2 separate regions of the Homo sapiens genome follow, and region 1 is linked to region 2. Evidence: promoter capture Hi-C in human tissues and cell types (Jung and others, 2019). All regions are on one chromosome and are shown on one strand. The core of a region is centred on a gene start or on the middle of the fragment in contact, and the rest is flanking DNA. Distances in the headings are between cores, read along the strand shown.

Region 1 (3,607 bases), core at 1,047-3,546, 150 kb after region 2:
CCCAGCTTTTAGAGATCTGGCAGAGGAGGAGGAACTAAAAAGGAGTGTGAGTGAGATAGAAGGAAAACCAGGGCTGTGGGGAGGGAATAAAAGCCTGGACTGAGGGGGCTGGTGAGAGAATGGGAGCTGAAAGGGCGGAGGAAGCAGTGGAGGCAGGTTTTGAAGAGGGCTGCTGAAAAAAGAAGGAAAGGTGGTTGTATCTGAATAGAGGACTTGTGGTCAAGGAAAACTTTATTGGTTTGTTTACTTTGGATGGGTACATTAAGGCATCTTAGTGTGTTGCTAGAATGGTCCAATGGAGAACCAGAAATTCATGATTCAGGGAGAGAGGATAATTGCAGAATTGGAGTCCTGACGTGGGTAAGATGGGAAAAATCAAGAGAATAACTAGAGGGGTTGCCCTGAGACAGGATTAGGGACAGAGGACCCTTTTTCCATGACAACCAGAAGGAATGGGTGTAGTACGTTGGGTATATATAGCAGAGGGAAGATAAAGCAGTTCCAAGCTGATCACCTCATGCCATCCTCTCTCTCTTCTTATTATAATCCAGCTCAGTTTCTGTGTTGTTCCTGAAGGCTTCTTTTTCTCTGAACTCCTGTAGGAGGGCACACACCCCTTCTGTACTGCACCTGTAGTAACCTTGTTTGACTCTGTAAATAAAGCTTCTTGAGGACAGTGTATCATTTTTGATCTGCTAGAACATTTGGTACAATTGCTGTTCACATGGTAATACCTCAAAAATACTTAGTGATCAAAATATGAGTCATGAATATATGGCGATGAAACTTTTTTTTAAAAAATCAGACATTCAGAATATTGTTCTTTCAGGTTGTACTGAAAGTCATACTTTTATTCTTCTAGTGCCCCTCCTTTAGTTTGACAGTTCCTTTTGGAATTGCTTTTGAGGCAGTAAAAGATCCTTTTGAATGTTTATAAGGGAAGCAAACTTCTGTTGAGACCTATTCTGAGTTTAGGAAATAACCCAAAGGCATTTGCTTTCTGGTTTTATGAGTTAGAGGATCCAATTTGGGTAATGGATTTTGTGTTAAAAAGAAAAAAAAAGGTGGGATTATAAGTAATTTCCAAATGTGGTTCTAATAGAAGTGTAAGAATTGCTTTAAGTGCTGGCAGCAGACTTGTTCAGTTGAGTCTTTAAGCTTCCAAGGCTGTAATAAAGGTAAGAAGGGGCCACAGGGGGAACCCAGGGGAGAAAGTGCTGGTGTAACCTGCCAGAACCAGGCTGAGTTGTAAATGGGGAATACTTATATCCTCTGTCCCCATATGGATATGGCACAGGGAAAACGTTCTCTAGGAGTCGGTCTGACACAGGGCACGGTGTGTGGAGTCCTGGCACATTAGGAGACTACAGATGTAGAACAGCATGGCTGGAGCACAGGGCACAGTGAGAGGATGGGCTGCAGACACAGGAACTGGCAGGGAGGATGGACACAGGGTCTTCTGAAGAGGTCGTAGATTCTTCTGATTGCAACTGAGAACAGTAGAAGCATTTTAAGTACTCTGTGAATTGAAATTTATGATGGTGATATTGACTGAGGTTTAGTGGATGATGATGGTTAGGGAGAGAGTAGGGAATGAGTTCTCAGCCAAAAGATTATTTCAGTAACCTGCGTAAAATGAGGAGGTTCTAACATTAGGTAGTAGCAATGGGGTTGGAGAAGAGATGCTAAGGATAGAGCTGATGGGACTTAATGATCAGTTGGATTCAGGTGGGGTTGGGCCTGAGGATAACTCCAAGACTTCTGGCTAAGGCATACAGGTGGATCCAGCACCATTAATCAGATTGGGAAAAGAGTCTGAGGGTCAGGTTTTGTGGGAAAAGTGAGTAAAATGGACATAGTTGAGGGTGGAGGGGGAAGTTTCTTCTTTTTCCCCTCTTGGACAGTAGAATCCCTGCTGATTCTAGGTTCCATTTTGTACCCCAGGTCAACTCTTTGATAGAATTTCCATCTCAGGAAAATATCTTTTTCTGAAATTAAACTTGTCATCTCTTACAGAGGTCCTGGAATAAGGCTTTTGACATGAGCAGAAAAGAGAGGCAATTCCAAAGAAAGACCCTTTTCCTAAAATTGAATTGTGCTTACTCTTTTCATTTCTTTATGGTGGTGAAACTTCATCATGACGATACTGGCCCACTTCAGAATCATTAGTAGCACAAAGAATATGACTGTGGCATTGCAATGTTTTATCTTACACATCCAGAACTGACTTCATGGGCAGGCAACATGGGCAGTCCTCCAGGACTCAGGCCCACACTTAAAAAAAAAAAAAAAAGTTCTGTAATCACCATCTTGAAATTCTTAATTTTGAACAAGGGGCCATCATTTTAATTTTGGACTGGGCTGCCAAATTATGTAGTGGGCCCTGTCTACACCTTTAGAAGTTAGACACACATACTAATTCAGTACATAGTTACTTCTAAATGCCAGACCCAGAGCTGGGTGCTAGAGATACCACAGTGAGCAAAGCAGATGTGATCCTACAAGGAGCTGATAGCCAATTGCTTTGGTTGCTGAAGCCTTTCAAGGGTTGGGGAAGGTGCATGATTTCTTTTTCTGAAGCAGAGGGAATACAAGTACGTAGGGTAGACTAACTACATTTTTACAAAATTAACTTTGTTATTTTAATTGTTCTAACAGGTGGGAGAATCTCCACAAGTGTCTTCCAGACTTCAGAATTTGAGACTGAATAATTTAATTCCCAGGCAACTTTTCAAGCCCACCGATAATCAAGAAACTTAGTTTTATTTCAAATTGTTCCGAGTAACTATGTTTTTCTATTGGAGACAAAATGAACATCGTAACGTCAAAGTACCAAGATAAAAAAAGTTTCCTATAACTGGAGTTTTAAGGTATTTGTGTTAGCAAATGTTTTAAATCCATTTCATCAAAGTATTAATGATTTCAACACGTCATCATGAGAACTGGTAGCACTGGACATAAGTGAAGAGATTAGATATTTTATATACATATATATTTTTATACAATTATGTACATTAAGCCAGGCACGGTGGCTCATGCCTGTAATCCCAGCACTTTGGGAGGCTGAGGCAGGTGGATCACCAGAGGCCAGGAGTTTGAGACCAGCCTGACCAACATGGTGAAACCCCATCTCTACTAAAAATGCAAAAATTATATGGGTGTGGTAGCACATGCCTGTAATCTCAGCTACTCAGGAGGCTGAGGCAGGAGAATCGCTTGAACCCGGGAGGCGGAGGTTGCAGTGAGCTGAGATTGCACCATTGCACTCCATCCTGGGTGGCAGAGCGAGACTCCGTCTCCAAAAAAAAAACAAACAAACAAACAAACAAAAAAAAACAAACAATTATGTACATTAAAACATTGTATTTTTAGGATAATGCCTCGTAACTTTGATGATCGTTGTGTGTTACCTTTGCCAATGGGTTGAAGCAGTGGCAAAGAAAAGGTGTAATTACATCTGTTGATGTTATTGACATGCCTCCTAGGATGTTGAAATGTGGTCATTTTACAAGACTGCTGCTCACTTCATCACTGCTGCCTGGGGCCCAGCCTACCTGGGACTTTTCCTTGGAAGTGCTTTCTGAGTTGGGAGCACATTGTTTTGAAT
Region 2 (3,477 bases), core at 959-3,458:
AGTCGGGGAGATCAGCAGTTGATAGCAACCATGATGATACAACCTGATGATATAAAAATCAAAACTCAAGACAGTTTTAGGAATAGGAAGGCAACATGGTCTGAGAACGACTGCCAACACTGAAAATACAGGAAATTTCACATACTCTAGCTTTCACTTAGGATCCTTGCTTCTTGGTAAATTACAAGATCTGGTAAAGCAGGCCTTTCTGATTGCTTCCCTCATCTGCAGTGATTTCCTGTTTCCTCTGAGTGAGTTTGCCTCCCTGTAGTAGCAATTCAAAAGCTACCAAATAATTAATGGCCTTTTGCCTCTGTTGCTCAGCATGTTCAGGTAGTCCCTTTAAGAGATGTATAGAGGGCCGGGTGTGGTGGCTCATGCCTGTAATCCCAGAACCTTGGGAGGCCTAGGGAGGTGGATCACTTGAGCCCAGGAGTTTGAGACCAGATTGAGCAACATGGGAAAACCCCGTCTCTACAAAAACTACAAAGGTTAGCCAGGCATGGTGGCATGCACCTGTAGTCCCAGCTGTACTGGAGGCTGAGGTGGGAGGATGGCTTGAGCCCAGGGGGTGGAAGTTGCAGTGAGCCGAGATCGCACCATTGCACCCCAACCTGGGCAATCAGAGCGACTAAAAAAAACAAATAAGAAAGAAAGGAGGGAAGGAAGGAAGAAAGGAGGGAAGGAAGGAAGGAAGGAAGGAAGGTAGGTAGGTGTACAGTGTGTACAGATTGACAATAAAACCTTGAACAACGGGATATCGAAATTCTTGCCCACACAGTATGGGCTTTGCCAGTTTTCAGATACATTTTTATGAAGTATTTTCGCTGGCAAAACCATTCAGGTAGGGGCATGAAATGATAGTGTTTCATCACTCGTGATCTCTAGGGGCAGCTATTCCAAAGACTACAATCTGAGAGGTTTCAAAACACCTCTGGTGTTTTCACTTGATGGCCACTGCCCACTCTTCCAGTCACTAAGGCTGAGATTTTTCTCACCACTTTCAAAACAACTTTTTGTCACTGGTAACATGCCTCATGTGACCTAGAAGATTTTGAAACAACAATTTTACTTAAACTCCGTGAAGATTTCAAAACAACAATTTTACTTAAACTCCATGTTGAAGGCAAAAAGGAAGATTGTGTGAAGCACTTTGAGGAAGGAAAAAATGATGGAACGATATTTCATCAAGGAAGCCCATGAGGAAGAAAATTTATTAAAACCAAGTAGGTGTATGGAGGAGAGGCCGCCTCGTGAAGAAAACGAACATAATTTTACGCTGATTTGGTGTCTTTTCTGTTTTTCTCTTGTTGGTATCTACATTCATCTTTTCCAATAATAATCCCATATATGTACATTTTTATCTGTTTAAATTCAGTAAAAGTTGGGAGGAAAATGTGTCAAAACTTTTAGAGTGTGATGGGCTGAGTGGGGTTGTGAGTGATTATCTTCTTTTTTCAGTTTTTTTCTGGGTTTTCCAAGTGTTCCTCGATGAACATGGATAGTTTTTCTGACAGGATAAAAAAGAAGTAGTCCGGGACAGTGGCTAACACCCCGAATCCCAGCACTTTGGGAAGCCGGAGGTGGGAGGATCGCTTGAGGCCAGGAGTTTGAAACCAGCCTGGGCAGCATAACGACACTCCCTCTCTACGAAAAACGAAAAAAAATAATTAGCCGGACGTGGTGGCGTGCGACTGTGGTCCCAGCTACTCGGGAGGCTGAGGTGGGAGGATCGCTTGAGCCCAATAGGTGGAGGCTCCGTGAGCTGAGATAGCGCCACTGCGCTCCTGCCTGGGCGACAGAGTGAGAACCTGACTCAAAACAAAGAAAAAAGGAAGAAAAGAAAGGAAGGGAAGAAGGAAGGAAGGGAGAAGCTTTCAAAAATAAACTTTTGTAAGAAGTAATGACACCGCTAGCCGTCCACACCAGGAGACCGCCTAGCCGTGGGGCACGGTGGGCTCCTGGGAGCTCTGAGCTCTGGGCTTTCTCCAGTTCGCACTCTGCTTGTCTCGGCAGCTCCGTCCCCACCGCAGAGGTGTGAAGGGGCGCAAAGCCAGCGAAGGGAGAACCCGGGTCGGGTAACCCCCAGGCCTGGCCAGGCGGACGCAGGGGCATCTCGGGCGAGGCGCGCCTTGCGTCACGTGGGCACCGCCCCTGCAGTGACCGGAGAACGGCGTGTTCCTAGGGCTCTGCTGCCGTCGTGGAAGCAGGATTTCCGCGGTTGTGTAACGGCCTGTCGCAGGCGTGCAGGGACCTGGACTCCGCCTCGTCCCCGGGGCTCGGGCAGCCGAGCCATGGCGGGGAACTGTGGGGCCCGCGGCGCGCTGTCGGCGCACACGCTGCTGTTCGACCTGCCGCCCGCGCTGCTCGGAGAGCTCTGCGCTGTTCTGGACAGCTGCGACGGCGCGCTGGGCTGGCGCGGCCTGGGTGAGTCGGCGGGGACCGGCCGGGGGCGGCGGGGGAGCCCAGCGCGCCGCGGGGCCCGCTCGGCGTCGCCCTGCATGGCTGGGGTCCCTCGCGGGGCTGGCGCGGCCTCCGGGAAGTTCCCGCCAGGGAGCCGGCCCCCTCCTTTCCTGGGTTGGATGCAGAGACTCCCTGGGACCCAGATGCCTTCCCTCCCTTCTCTTTCAAAGAATTTTGGGTATCGCTGCAAAGTCAAGGGAGCCGAGGCCTGGGAAAGACAGATAACCAGCGTGAAAGCATCTTCTGTTCGTCCGCGATGCCACCCTCACTGGGTTCGCAATGTATGATGTCTTCTGGTCCTTGCAAAATCACCCCAGAACATCATTTTAGTATTGAGACATTTTTAGAACTTTGAGATACTTATCCTTTGGTGTTTTCAATGCATCCCTAAGCCCCTAACTTAATTACAAGTGAAATGCTAAAGTAAACTACGGTTTGCAATGAACGCGGCTCCTAATTTTCTTAATTAAATCTTATTTACCCAATTTCGTTGAATGAAGGTTTATGCTAAAGGGTGGCTTTTTATTTTAATCTAAAAAAATTGGCTTCAGAACTGTATTTTATGCAGACATTGGAAAGTTGAGCAACTGCCTGCTGGAAGTGTTGAGTGTAGCCAGAGATAATTCGGACAAAAATCTTCGTTTTGTTAAGTACAGGCATTTTTGGTTAGATTTGATATTCCACAATGTCATGTTTAATGTTTATTGAAAAGAATCATGATTATGTCAAAATAACTTAGCTTTAATGGTCTGAAATAGGATTTTTCTTACCAGGACTAGCAGAAGGCCTAAGAGGAGAGTTTTCTTTGTTACTGATGAACAGTATGGTGACAGTCTTTGAATTGTAGCAATGGGCTTCTGGTTATACAAAAAATGTTTATATATTTTAAGCTCTGTAATTTTAAGTTATGGCCCTTAAGAAAAAAAAAAAAGTCTGATTTCTAGAAAACGAGATTTCCAGTGTGCATTTGAGGGATTTTGAGGGATAAGGTCACTTCCCCATCAGATCTTTTTG

What was found. Contacts are between HindIII fragments. The study calls those that stand out against the background at their distance.
Region 1: a contact is called between a fragment that was not itself captured here and the fragment with the promoter of IRAK3 in region 2, in 1 of the 25 tissues and cell types used here (stomach).

What each region holds. Positions count from the first base shown.
Region 1 is chr12:66,335,343-66,338,949 of GRCh38, forward strand. HELB (DNA helicase B) reads left to right here. Exons shown (of 13, transcript NM_001370285.1): 13 at 2,659-2,857. The coding sequence ends at 2,760. Among named protein-coding and RNA genes, the nearest start is that of HELB, 35 kb to the left of the region's middle. The HindIII fragment of the contact is 6,484 bases long and covers 1-3,607 here.
Region 2 is chr12:66,187,006-66,190,482 of GRCh38, forward strand. IRAK3 (interleukin 1 receptor associated kinase 3) reads left to right here and starts at 2,209. Exons shown (of 12, transcript NM_007199.3): 1 at 2,209-2,427. The coding sequence starts at 2,295. RefSeq lists silencers at 2,314-2,363, 2,384-2,543. The HindIII fragment of the contact is 8,386 bases long and covers 1-3,477 here.